Regions from separate parts of the Homo sapiens genome. Here region 1 is linked to region 2. Evidence: promoter capture Hi-C in 16 types of primary human blood cells and fetal thymus (Javierre and others, 2016). All regions are on one chromosome and are shown on one strand. Each heading gives the region's core, a stretch centred on a gene start or on the middle of the fragment in contact. The rest is flanking DNA. Distances are from core to core; before and after follow the strand shown.

Evidence for each region. Contacts are between HindIII fragments. The CHiCAGO score rates a contact against its expected background, and 5 or more counts as called.
Region 1: a fragment that was not itself captured here is called in contact with the fragment with the promoter of PNLDC1 in region 2 in 1 of 17 cell types (neutrophils); the score reaches 5.3 in neutrophils.

What each region holds. Positions count from the first base shown.
Region 1 is chr6:160,009,752-160,016,172 of GRCh38, reverse strand. IGF2R (insulin like growth factor 2 receptor) reads right to left here. Exons shown (of 48, transcript NM_000876.4): 4 at 5,388-5,486. Among named protein-coding and RNA genes, the nearest start is that of AIRN, 5.3 kb to the right of the region's middle. The HindIII fragment of the contact is 1,709 bases long and covers 3,967-5,675 here.
Region 2 is chr6:159,796,044-159,802,232 of GRCh38, reverse strand. PNLDC1 (PARN like ribonuclease domain containing exonuclease 1) reads right to left here and starts at 1,957. Exons shown (of 19, transcript NM_001271862.2): 1 at 1,850-1,957; 2 at 1,404-1,461; 3 at 1,047-1,120. The coding sequence starts at 1,925. It overlaps MRPL18 (mitochondrial ribosomal protein L18), which reads right to left. Exons shown (of 4, transcript NM_014161.5): 3 at 4,715-4,946; 4 at 3,804-4,181. The coding sequence ends at 4,110. The HindIII fragment of the contact is 10,328 bases long and covers 1-6,171 here.

The DNA.
Region 1 (6,421 bases), core at 3,572-6,071, 210 kb before region 2:
CCCTTAACTCAGTGAGTCTCCCACCTGTGGCCCATCGCTGGCAGCAGGCCAAAAAAGCCAGCCCAGTCCCAAGCAGTCTGTATTAGGTTGTTTTTGCACTGCTATAAATACCTGAGACTGGGTAATTTATAAAGAAAAGAAGTTTAACTGGCTCACAGTTCTGCAGGTTGTACAGGAAGCATAGCTCGGCTTCTGGGGAGGCCTCAAAAAGCTTTCACTCACGGCAGAAGGTGAAGTGGGAGCAAGCATATCTCACAGCAAAAGCAGGAGCAAGACGGTGAGAGTGAAACAACCAGAAACTTTGAAACAACCAGATCTCATGAGAATTCACTCACTGTCATGAGGACAGCACCAAGGGGATGGTGCTAGACCATTCATGAGGGACCCCCATGATTTAATCACCTTCCACCAGGCCCCACCTCCAGCATTAGGGATTCAAATTCAATGTGAGATTTGGGGAGGGACAAAATCCAAACTATATCAGGGTCTGTGCTCAGATGGTGAAACTGCCCCAGGCTGCAAGACTCCCTGCCCAGGACAGAAACCATGGCTCTGAGGCCACATCTTTGCAGTACAGTTTCATGAAGTAGGGGCACCCGCATCTTTGCGGTACAGTTTCATGAAGTAGGAGCACCCACATCTTTGCGGTACAGTTTCATGAAGTAGGGGCACCCACATCTTTGCGGTACAGTTTCATGAAGTAGGGGCACCCAACTTCCGCATCACAGCAAGAACTCAAGCCCAGAAAGGAATCCCCCCCAGAGTAAAAAAGGCCCTGGTCACCAAGTGAACCATGACTATGTGAAACATTCCTGTAAGTTTTATTTCCAAAATAATACACTGGCATCATTTTAATTACCTCTTCCAAAGAATATTCTAAAACTTCATGTTCTCTGAAATCATTTCAAAGTAGATAGTTTTATTATTTTCTGTGGATAAGTTTCCCAAAATTTTATCTTTTAGACTGAAGCAATTCACAGACAGGTCTATTTACAAAAGTTAACTGCTTAATATTTAGCTTTCAAATTTCTCTTAGAAATAGGCTATCAAATCTGCAGGAATGCTCTAACCCACTAACCTTTTTCCCCAGTCCTGCTGTCAGAGATTCATGGAGAGCTAATAGAGTGAATCAAACGACCTACACCTACTCACAGCCTCAAAGGCACTTGAACTCATTTTGACCATATCCTCAAAGCAAAGTTGCCTGTCGCCTAAAATACTTCTCAGACACCTAAGTGTTTCTACTAATAATGGAGGAAGTTAGAACCTCTAGTGCTCAGAGGGTACCAGCACATGGAGCTTAAGCCTACCACCAGATTCATGCAGAAAGGCAACTAAAAGAAAATTATTGCCACAGACTATAATTGGGTTACAGTAAAAAGCCACAAGTGCCCATTATCCTGCAAATCTAAAGCTTGTCATCCCACAGCAAGATCATATGAAAACATTAACCCAAGAGGGGAGTGAGTCAGTGGACTGGGTAGGATGCAAGACAAGATGCAATTCTCTAACCAGCAAAATAAAAGCCTATGATGGAAAAGGGAGCAAGATGGCATATGGCAAGAAGGGAAAATGAAAGAACTCTTCATTCTGAAAACAGCTGCATTTCACCAAGACACTTAGAGGATTCCACATAGGCAAGATCTGCAAGCACCCTGCTCGGGGCAGGTAGCAACTACTGGCTGTCTCCCTACTCCAGGAGGGAAGAGAAGACATGCCTCACACAGCACTCCACAGAACTGGAGTGTGCATTGGTAAACAGTCAAGGCTACTGGGGAACACCCTCCCACTTCCTGCTACAGCAAACACAGCAATGGAGACATTCATAAGACCACGAATTTAGCAGCCTGGGGAGCGAGGTTGTTTGCCAGCTGCAACACACCACGCATTGAGTTAATGCTGTTTTATATATAATAATCTTACTTTTATAACCCTGGTAAGACTGCTAGCAGGCCAGTTCTGAATTTTGCCTGTTCCCAAGGGCACTACAGTAGGAGGTATATTTACACAATGCTTTAAAGAAATAATTACCTTAAAGCCTCTACCAGAATCCACTGAACAAAGTATAACAATAGTTTTAAAGGGCTGTTTGTAACTACCATGATTTTTGCCCATCAAAATCATTCTAAATGTGACAGAGCAAAATGAATAAATAAATGAGACATTAGTAAGATGTAGAAAGCAAGACTACAATGACACTAAACCAAATTGAGATTTTTTTTCTTTAGGGAATGATGAGGTTTTTATAAGTACATAAACCTTCAATATGTTTTAAACTTATCATACCAAGCCTGTAAGGTGTAATCAAATCAAACTGAAAGCAGAAAAAAGGGCATACGCTTTATTAAGATTTGCTAACAGTGACAGCACTACATTTTTAGCAGTCATTATGCTTTTCAGTTCTTTCCATTTAATCTATCCATAAGACAAAAAAAAATGAGTTAATGAATATGGATATGTCCTTCACACCATTAGTCTATAGGCTCCCTGAAAGCATTCCAAAATTTAACAAAATTCCTACTGCTTAGCTCACAATAGGCTCTCAATAAATGAAAACTCAATGAATAAAGCCCCAGCTGCCAATTACACCTGAAGAGGTAAGAGAGTACAAAGTACAAATGTTTCTCATGCATCTTCAATCTGCTTCTAAGAGAAATTAAATGTCATTGTTTTGAGAAAAACACAGACTATACCTCCCCATTCCCACCCCAAAAACTATTTAGAACACAGATCAGCACCTTTTTTTTTTTTTTTTTTTTTTTACAAAGAACCATGTGGTATCTACATTTTGGGTTTTGCAGGTCACATAGGTCTCTGTGGCATATTCCTCTTTGTTTTGTAACAATCCTGTAAAAATGTGAAAACCATTCTTAGTCCTGGGGTTGTACAAAAACAGGCCAGGGCAGGCTTTGAACCATGGGCTGTAGTTGGTGATTTCTGACCCATTGAAAACAAGTTGCTATTCATTTTATTTTGGAAAGCAATTTTTTCCTAGGTGGTAGAAGACACAACTGTCAATTCAGCAACGTGACATAAGAGGTACACTCAGATAAAACAAAAACAAAACAAAACAAAAAGGGTATCATGATCAGGTTGGAAAATCAGAGCCCAGGAGAGTATCTGTGGGACTGAGAGGTCTGGGGTCTAACAGGAGAGCAGAGGGCACCACTGTCACCGCAGCCTCCACCTCCCACAGGAAGCAACTCAGATCCGGCCAACTGGACACTTGAGGATGACTGTGTGTGGGGCCAGGCGCAGGGGCTCACTCCTGTAATCCCAGCACTTTGGGAGGCCGAGGCAGGCGGATCACCTGAGGTCAGGAGTTCAAGGCCAGCCTGGCCAACATAGAGAAACCCCGTCTCTACAAAACAAACAAATAAACAAACAAACAAACAAAAAAAAAAAAAAATATATATATATATATATAAATTAGCCGGGCATGGTGGCTCATGCCTGTAATCCCAGGATGACTGTGTGTCCCCACTCAAATCTTGTGTCAAATTGTAATCCTCAACATTGGAGGCGGGGCCTGGGGAGGTGACTGGATCATGAGGGCAGATTCCATCACCCCCTTCTTGCTATTATCATGATAGTGAGTGAGTTCTTGTGAGATCTGGTCATTTCAAAGTGGGCGGCACCTCCCCCTCCCACTCTCTTCCTCAGGCTCTGGCCACGTGAGGTGCTCGATACTCTGTTGCCTTCTGCCATGACTGTAAGTTTCCTGAGGCTTCTCCAGATGCAGATGCTGCCATTCTTCCTTTACAACCTGCGGAACTGTGAGCTAATTATACCTCTTTTCTTTATAAATTACCCAGTCTCAGGTGTTTCTTTATAGCACTGCGAGAATGAACACACTGTGCTCCCACCCTCACCCCCAAACCCCAAACAGATGTCTGCTTTGAGATGCTTTTCCCACCGCTAACAGTATGTCATCTAACAGCTTCACCTAAGTTTTTAAATGAAGCTTACATTTGACACTGTCTCCTAAATATCAGCCTTAATTCTTTCCACTTTAAACTTTTTTTTTTTCATTGAATGCTCCTTATGGCTTTCCTGGGCAGTATTTTACCACTTCCACTTCCATATGACACTGTCTTTCCCTTCATAGATGACCATATCTGAAAATATCAGTGATTTATTGTTCATAATTTAATCTGAATTAATGTTTTTAAATAAACATTTCTTTTTGTCTTATTAAACTGCATGGTATTAGGCCACTAGTAAAAATTACTGATTATGACCATTCATTAGTTCCTGAATCCTTACAACCTTTGAAAGTTCTTAAAAACAGAAAGTAGGAGAGAAAAGTGAGATAATCAATTAATTAAGATTGTTATCAAGGTGAGAACAGGAAATTCCCTTTAGGATCTGGGGTGGTGGGCATGGAGAAGCGGCAGAAGGAACACAGTCTGCTCTTCCCCAGGACCAGGGAGAATCAAGTAGCAGTGCAACATGAGGGAATCCAGGCTGGGGAAGGGGACATTCCATTAGTCAACAAGAATGACCTGCCCAAGAGATCCATTAAACACCACCACAACCACAGTTAATAACAATGTAATTTATTCTTGCGTATCACTAAGAGAGTAGATTTTAAGAGTCCTCACAAAAAAAAAAAAAAAAACGAAATATGTGAGGTAACACATATGTAATTAGCTCAATGTAGCCATTCCTCAATGTATACATATTTCAAAATATCATGTTGCACATAATACATATAGGTCAGTGTGTATGTATATAGATATATATACATACATGCACCCAAGAAGAATGTCTTGACCAAGGAATGCTGGGTTCAAATAATAAGGGGTGGACGTAATAGTAACAGTAACCTAGTAATCTAGTCTCTGAGGTGAGCTGGAAAAGAATTTAAGGGATACCTGACCTGGACTCACATTGCAGCCAGAAGTCATCCCAAGGCTGAGGAGAGGGACAGAGAGATTTAACAATGCAAACAGGTAAAGGAGACTTATCAAAAGCGGGGTACAACACAGGTGGAAAGCCAGGTGCAAAGGAAGATGAAGCAGGCAGCGTCAGAAACAGATGGCTCCTGCAGGTAGAGTGAATACTCTAAGCCCAAGCCCAAACACGTCACTTAGTTTACTGAGTTGCACAGCACCAGAAACCAAGAACTAACTTGCCCTATATGGATGAGCCATTCTATTTCCAATCTGGACCAAAAATCACATCCTGTGATATTTTAAATGCCCTGTCCTAAAAATAAGAACCACTCAGAAAAGTTTTAAAAATTAAATCACATGGTATCTCTGCTCAAATGCAATTTGGAAGCTAAAAAAGATTTTCACCCGGAAAGGTTAGAATCAGTATTTGAAAGATAAAGTTCCCCAGAGTATACTTCATAAGCATGTAATTTGAAGTTCCCATGTTACCTCCTTATTTGCTTTAAATATGTCTTTCTTGCAGGCTGCAGTGGTCCTCCACTCAAAGTAGTGCACACATTCTGTTGCAGTTACAAATTCAGGAGTTCCCTATTAAAAAAAAATAGTAATTATAATGTTACCATACCACACATTGTAAAGATTCTTCTTTAAAATGAGAATGCAGTAAAGGCTACTAAAATAAAGAAAGCAGCAGCAAGAAGGGCAGGGGATGCAACCGCTTTAGTTAAACGGGGTCATCAAGAGGTTCCCAAATCTGCAAATTCTGAGACCAAAGCTTCATAAAATCATGTTGGGATTTTGTGTAACTAATCCAAAGGAATTCTACCGCCCCAGCTGTGCAAGTACATTGAGTGAGTTCATGGGAAGAAATCCTCAGTCATTCTCCTCTCAAACTCCAAATGTTCTCTTAAGCAAATGCCAGCAAACGAAAGCCAGAAAACGTGACCTCATGCTTCCCGTGAAAAGGCTCCCATGAGGAGCCCATCTGCATCTGACCAAGTTAGTACACCCACCAGACGCCAACCCTCCAAGGCAGCCCCTCCTGTTAACCGCAACCAGAGTGGACTACAAACAGGTCAACCCCAGCATCGCAGGATGACACAAGCACAGCAGGAACTGGCCTCTTCACTCCCACGTGCAAGTCTAGGGAGTTATCCTTCACAGTTCTATTTCTGGTATGGTGAACACAGAATTCATAAAGGAAATTAGCTGAAGTTAAAACAGGAGCTATATATTTTATTCTGTAATATAAATCTCATTTAATGCTGCTGCGAACAGATTCTTTTTTGGGTCTCAATATGCACAACGATGCAATTTATATGCGGATCCAAAATTAACAATATTAGTTTTATTTTCAAAGTTCTTCAGATAAGACACTGTGGACCTGAAGATGCAATAGTCACAGTCCCAAATTCTAAAATGATATTTTAAAGCAATTTAGTAGCCACAGAGTTTCACTCAACCTGACTTTCCTAAAGATTGGGTTCTTACTGGGATTCAAGAACATTCATAGAATTTGTATA
Region 2 (6,189 bases), core at 708-3,207:
ACATTTTACTGGAATGGAGCCATGCTCATTTGTTCATGTATTCTCTACAGCTAATTTCACATTACAAAAGCAGGATTGAGTAGCTGTAAAAGAAACAGCATTACGCAACCGTTAACAGCTCTGTCTTGACCAGCCTGGCCAACATGGTGAAACCCCATCGCTACTAAAAATACAAAAATTAGCCAGGCCTGGTGGCAATTGCCTGTAATCCCAGCTGCTCTGGAGGCTGAGGCAGGAGAATCACCCGAACCTGGGTGGTGGAGGTTGCGGTGAGCCCACATCGCGCTACTGCACTCCAGCCTGGGCAACAGAGCGAGACTCCATCTCAGAAAATAAACTAATAACTAAATCAACAAATAGATCTGTATGAACCGATACAGAAAGATCTCCAAATCCCATCAAGGAAAAAAAAAAAGTTTCTGAAACTGAGATGACCTTAAAAAAAATTATTTTTGTGTGTAAATTTTCTTAAGAAAAAAAAATCACAGGCCAGGTGTGGTTGCTCACGCTTATAATTCCATCACTTTGAGAGGCAGAGGCAGAAAGATTGCTCGAGCCCAGGAAGTCAAGAACAGCCTGGCCAACATGACGAAAACCCATCTGAACAAAAAATTTAAAAATTAGCTAGGTGTGGTGGTGAGCCTGTAGTCCCAGTTTACTCAGGAGGCTGACGTGCTAGTATCACTTGAGCCCAGGAAGTCTAGGCTGCAGTGAGCTAAGACTATGCTACTGCACTCCAGTCTTGGTGACAGAGCAAGACCCTGTCTCAAAAAATAAAATAAAAATCGCACACACACAGTTTTACTTGAAAGAGTAACAGTGAGTGTTCCTTAATACTGACTTATTTAAGCACGGAAACAATGCTGCTAAATTTGGTTTGCTCCGAAGTGTTGATTTCCATATGTATACAATGGCCCAACACAAAACAAGCATACAAAACGATACTCAATATCCTTGAAAAATCTCAGAGCTGTTTTTACAGTAGGAAATCCAAGGACAATAAAAATACCTTCTTGAAAAACTCTAACAGCTGATATTAAACTCACCAATCTGACAGACTGTAAATTGCTGAACACTCTGACGGGTCTTTAGATACCACTCCGATGGCAAATCAAAAAGACTGTGAACAAACAGGCATCTCATTCCACGAGCAATGACATCCCATCCCGGCACTATGGCCTCCGCGGCAGGACCACCACTCGCAACCGGGGAGGATTTTTTCCTTGTTACAACAACTAGGGAGCACTACCATCATTTAGTGGACAGAAAAAAGCAAGGTCCTCCAACACGTAGGAGCAAGCCACACAAAACGTCCTGCCCCCCAAATGCCAACAGGCTGCTGGCCAGAAACAGTGCTGGTCTGGCCAGGCTCTTATACAGAGGGGACACAGCTTTAGTTTTACCTGATCTGCTGGGGCCCAGACAGGTTAGAACGAAGGCCCGTGAACTCTATGTCCAGACCTGCCAGGAAGGCAAAAAATAGCAGTCCTCGGGTGCAGAACATCGCCAGCACTCCTCACACTGTAGATCTGCAGGCGGCCAAGGCACCCGCGCTCACCTCTGCGCTCAAGAAGCCAAGTGAGGTCAGGAAGGGAAAATGGAGGAACCAAGGCAAGGAGCAGCCAGGCACCTGGGCGCACGGGGCTCTGGCCAACAAGGGACGTGGGGCTCGGAGTGTACTTGCTGCTCAAAGTCCCACCGCCCCGGGGCTGGAGAAGGAAGCCCCCCTGTCCTTCCCGAGGCCCTCTCTGAGGCCCTGTGGCCTGGCAACCGTCCCGCCACCCCCTCCTCAAGCTCGCCCGGGGCAAGGGGCTCTGTCCGGCACAGCCGCGAATCCCAGGCTCTTCACCCACGAAGTCGGCCTCCTGGACGAGCTCCTGCAGCAGAGGGAGGCTCTCCTCGAACTCGTCGGCGCCCACGTCCATGGCCGTGCAGCTCCGCGGAGTCGCCCAGCGCTATCACGTGCTGCCCACGTGCTGCCCACGCGCTTCCGTCGCGCCGCCGGGTCTTAAAGGGCGCACACATGGAAACCAGGCAGCTGCCTCCGCCCCACGTGCCCAGCTTCCCCGTGTGCTGCTGGCGTCGCCCACACCTGCCTGCGGGTGTTTTAATTGTACGATTTGCTACAGAGGTTTGATTGCAATTGCAATCAAAGCCTGTTTACCTGGCTCCTCAGCAATTTCTTTGCAGCCCTTAACGTGAGAATGTCATTTACATGGACTTAGAATGTTAAGAGGCGTGGCAGGAGACGAAGACAGAGTCCAGAAAGGGTGAAATCAGAAAAGCGGAGCAGGAACAACACCGGACGCAACTGCAATAAGCAGATCCTTTGCTGCGGCTCACGGTCTTCTAAATCACCTCTTCCCAACTTCTCCATCACTGCCAGTATGTCTGTCCCCATTCCCTCTCCCACGCCCCTGGACATCTTTTTCCTCATTCTGCTGTCCACCTTACCACTGTCTTCACACCTGCAATCAAACTTTGCAAAGCCTCAAGAACTGCCCATTAAATTGAAGGAATCCTTGGTCCCCAGGGATTATCTCGTGCACTCACTCCTTGCGGAAATCCCTACCTACATCATCACATACATGTGAGCTTAATTTTTACTTTTGTTACTGTTTCCAGTGCAACTAGTCCATGGTCTTCCTTACAGTGTCCTCCCTTGAATTCTAGGCTTCTACTTGAACAGCGTTTTGGAACTATGGTCCTCAAAGTGAGGTGCTCAAATCAATCTTTAAGGTTAGCGGAGAAAACATTACCGTTATACTTTATTTTTTCCTTTTGAGACAGTCTCACTCTGTCACCCAGGCTGGAGTGCAGTGGTGCCATCTCGGCTCTCTGCAATCTCCACCTCCTGAGTTCAAGCGATTCTCCCGCCTCAGCCTCTGAACAGCTGGGATTACAGGCATGCACCACCACGCCCAACTCATTTTTGTTTTTAGTAGAGATAGGGTTAAACCGTATTGGCCAGGCTGGTCTCGAATTCCTGGCCTCAAGTGATCCACCTGCTTCAGCCTCCTAAAGTGGTGGGATTAGAGGTGTGAGGCACTGCATCCGATCTTCAATTATACTTTTAAATGCCTCTCCGGGACATTAATTAAGCAAAAGGGGACTATTAAGCCATTTGATTCTGAAGACCTCTCAGAACAAATCATACTTCATACAGATGTGTTCCATTTAAAATAACACATTGAATACTCAAATTGGCAGAAGTAACATATTTCACTTCTAAACAAACATTTAATTGGGGTATACATTAAAAAAACTGGAAAACAATGCTCTAGAAGCCACCTTAACTGCCTACAGGTTTTTTCTCACATTTATCAAATAGCCAAAAATTAACACCTTAATCAGCTCCTTTCAGAGAACTGCCATGATTCCCATCTACCCAAGCTCAAATTTTAGATTAACTTGCATGCATTTCAAGTTTCATCTCCTATCTAATAAAATGTTCACTTCATGGCAAATTGAGCGCCCACTAACCCCAACCATTTCCACCTCTGCTTTCAGCTCCTGATGCCACCTCCTTCCTCTTTCAAATTTGTTTCTCTTACTGTTGGGAACCAAGAGTCCAAGTGAGGTTGGCATTTGGTCCTTTCATTTTCACATACTGACTGTTCTATAGTATTAGATTGATACTGACATTTCCTATTTTAAAAAACAACCCACACTCCGAGCAGCAAACAACTGTCATTCACTGAGATCACTCGCCATGAACTAGACACAGTAATAAGTGCTTTACATCAACCTCATATGTGCTCCACTGCCACAGTGAGCTCAGACAATGTCATATAACCAGAAAATAAGAGTTCATAATATGCCTTTATTTTGTAATTTATAAACAACTTCTGACTTGCCCTTTGAAAGTTAATTATAATTGATGACTGCTTTTCTTAGATGCTTCTGAAGCCCAAGAGAGGGGCAGAACGTAGTTCTTGATTTAAAAAAACAGAAAGGGGAGGAGGATGACCTTAACTACAAATAATATTCCACTGCAACATTATTGCTGTAAAACTTCCAAGCTGGCTGTTCTTCCAGATGCTCTCTTTTGATGGCTGTAGTGGCTGACAGATTTATATTTACATGTTCAAAACAATTAATGCTTCCATTTATTCATAGATTCTCTGAGGTTCCCGTAGAACCACACCACCTTCTGTCATGGCACTTTGTAGTCGTTTCATCTGGTTTTGAAAATCAGAAAAAAAAGGAAAAGATTAAGTCAGCAGCACGAGTAGGCTGAAAATACTTTCACCTTCCAAAAGACAGAAATAAATTGATTTGTTCTTGCTAACTTCCCAGCCTACAACGGTTTTTCAGAAAGTGATCTTAATAATGATGTAAGTAAAAAGGAAATGTAGAGATGTCAAGGTTCAGCAGCATTTCAAAATATTATATGGACAAGATGTCAATATATGAACAGGAAATACAGTGGCTGACATCATGGACTACAGAATCAGTCACCCTGGGTTTGAAATCCACCATACACTGACTCTGGGCAAGTAAGCCTCAGTTTATTTCTGTATAGAATGAGAGTACTAGTCCCTACCCTATGGACTGATGTGAGGATTAAATGAAGTAACACTGTTGAGTACTCACCAAAGGGTCTGACACATGGAAAGTATTTGGTAAGTAAAAACTGTTATTATTATGTAAGTTATCTAATGCCAAGAATTAACACAATACCTTTTCAATAAGTACATGAAAACAAAAATACCGAGTCTGAGGCTGCCTCCCACGGGGTTGGTTGGTAGACCATGAAGTTGATTCCCGCCTCTAAGCATCTCTGTGCCAGCACTCGTCCTATACTCTCACAAGCCACCACATTTCTGGTACTATAAAGGTGCTTTTTAATAGCCCACTCACGAGTGGAGGCCGAAACCACAACCTTGCCATTCTGATGCTCCACAAGTGCTTCTACATGATGCTGAGTCCTTATAACTCGCAACCTAAATGGGGTGAGAAGATAATAAAATCACAGAAGAATCTGTATCCTAAAGTTACATTAATTGAGGTGAATAAATGACTAAATATTTTTCAACAATCCAGTGTTTGGTTCATTTACTTCAACATATTTAACTTGGATTTTGCTTGGGAAAAGTATTTTTCCTCCGCCTTTATGAGAATATCCTCAATAATAACAAACTAAATAGTTCAAGTATCATGAAGAAATTTGTTTCTGAAGAGCTGAGTTTTATTTACAGATCTACTTCAAAAAGAGATTTGAAGAGACAGAGCTAAGTTACTGAACATATGCATGACATGGATATACTTACTCTTTGCTTTTATTTATAGCTAGCACCAAAATAAATATAAGACGGAACAAAAATTTAAATGCAAAAACTGAAATCATAACAGTACTAGAAGAAAACATGAGAAATTTTTTTATAATCTCAAGGTATGCATATTTAAATATGACATCAAACCATGTCATATGGCTTTTATTATTTTTCAGAAACAGGGTCTCACTGTCACCCAGCTCGGAGTACAGCAGTGCAACCACAGCTCACTGTAGCCTCAAACCCCTAGGCTCAAGCAACCCTCCTGCCTTAGTCTCCCAAGTAGTTGGCATTACAGGTGCATGCCACTGCACCAAGATAATTTTTATTTTGTAGAGACAGGGTCTCCCTATGTTGCCAAGGCTGGTGTCAAACTCCTGGCCTCAAGCGACCCACCCTTCTCAACCTCCCAAAGCACTGGGATTACAGGCATGAGCCACTGTGTCCAGCTTCATATGGCCATTTTTTTTTTTTTTTGAGACAGGGTCTGCCTCTGTCTCTCAGGCTAGAGTACAGAGGCACGAACTTGGCTCACAGCAGCCTCTGCCTCCTGGGATCAAGTCATCCTTCCACCTCAACCTCCCAAGTGGCTGGGACTACAGGCGCATGCCACTGCACCCAGCTAATTTTTGTATTTTTTTGTAGAGACAGGGTTTGCCATATTGCCCAGGCTCGTCTCAAACTCCTAAGCTCAAGCAGTCTACCCACCTCAGCCTCCTAATGTGCTGGGGTTACAGGCTGAGCCACCATGCCCAGCCCCTCATATGGCATAAAAAAGAAATGATGGACAAAATTTGCTGCATGGTTAAAAAAAAAAAAAAAAAAAAAGTAAAATGAAGTCAAAAGAAAAGCAATGAAACAAAAAATATTTTAGGCTGGGCATGTGACTCAAGCTTGTAATCCCAGCACTTTG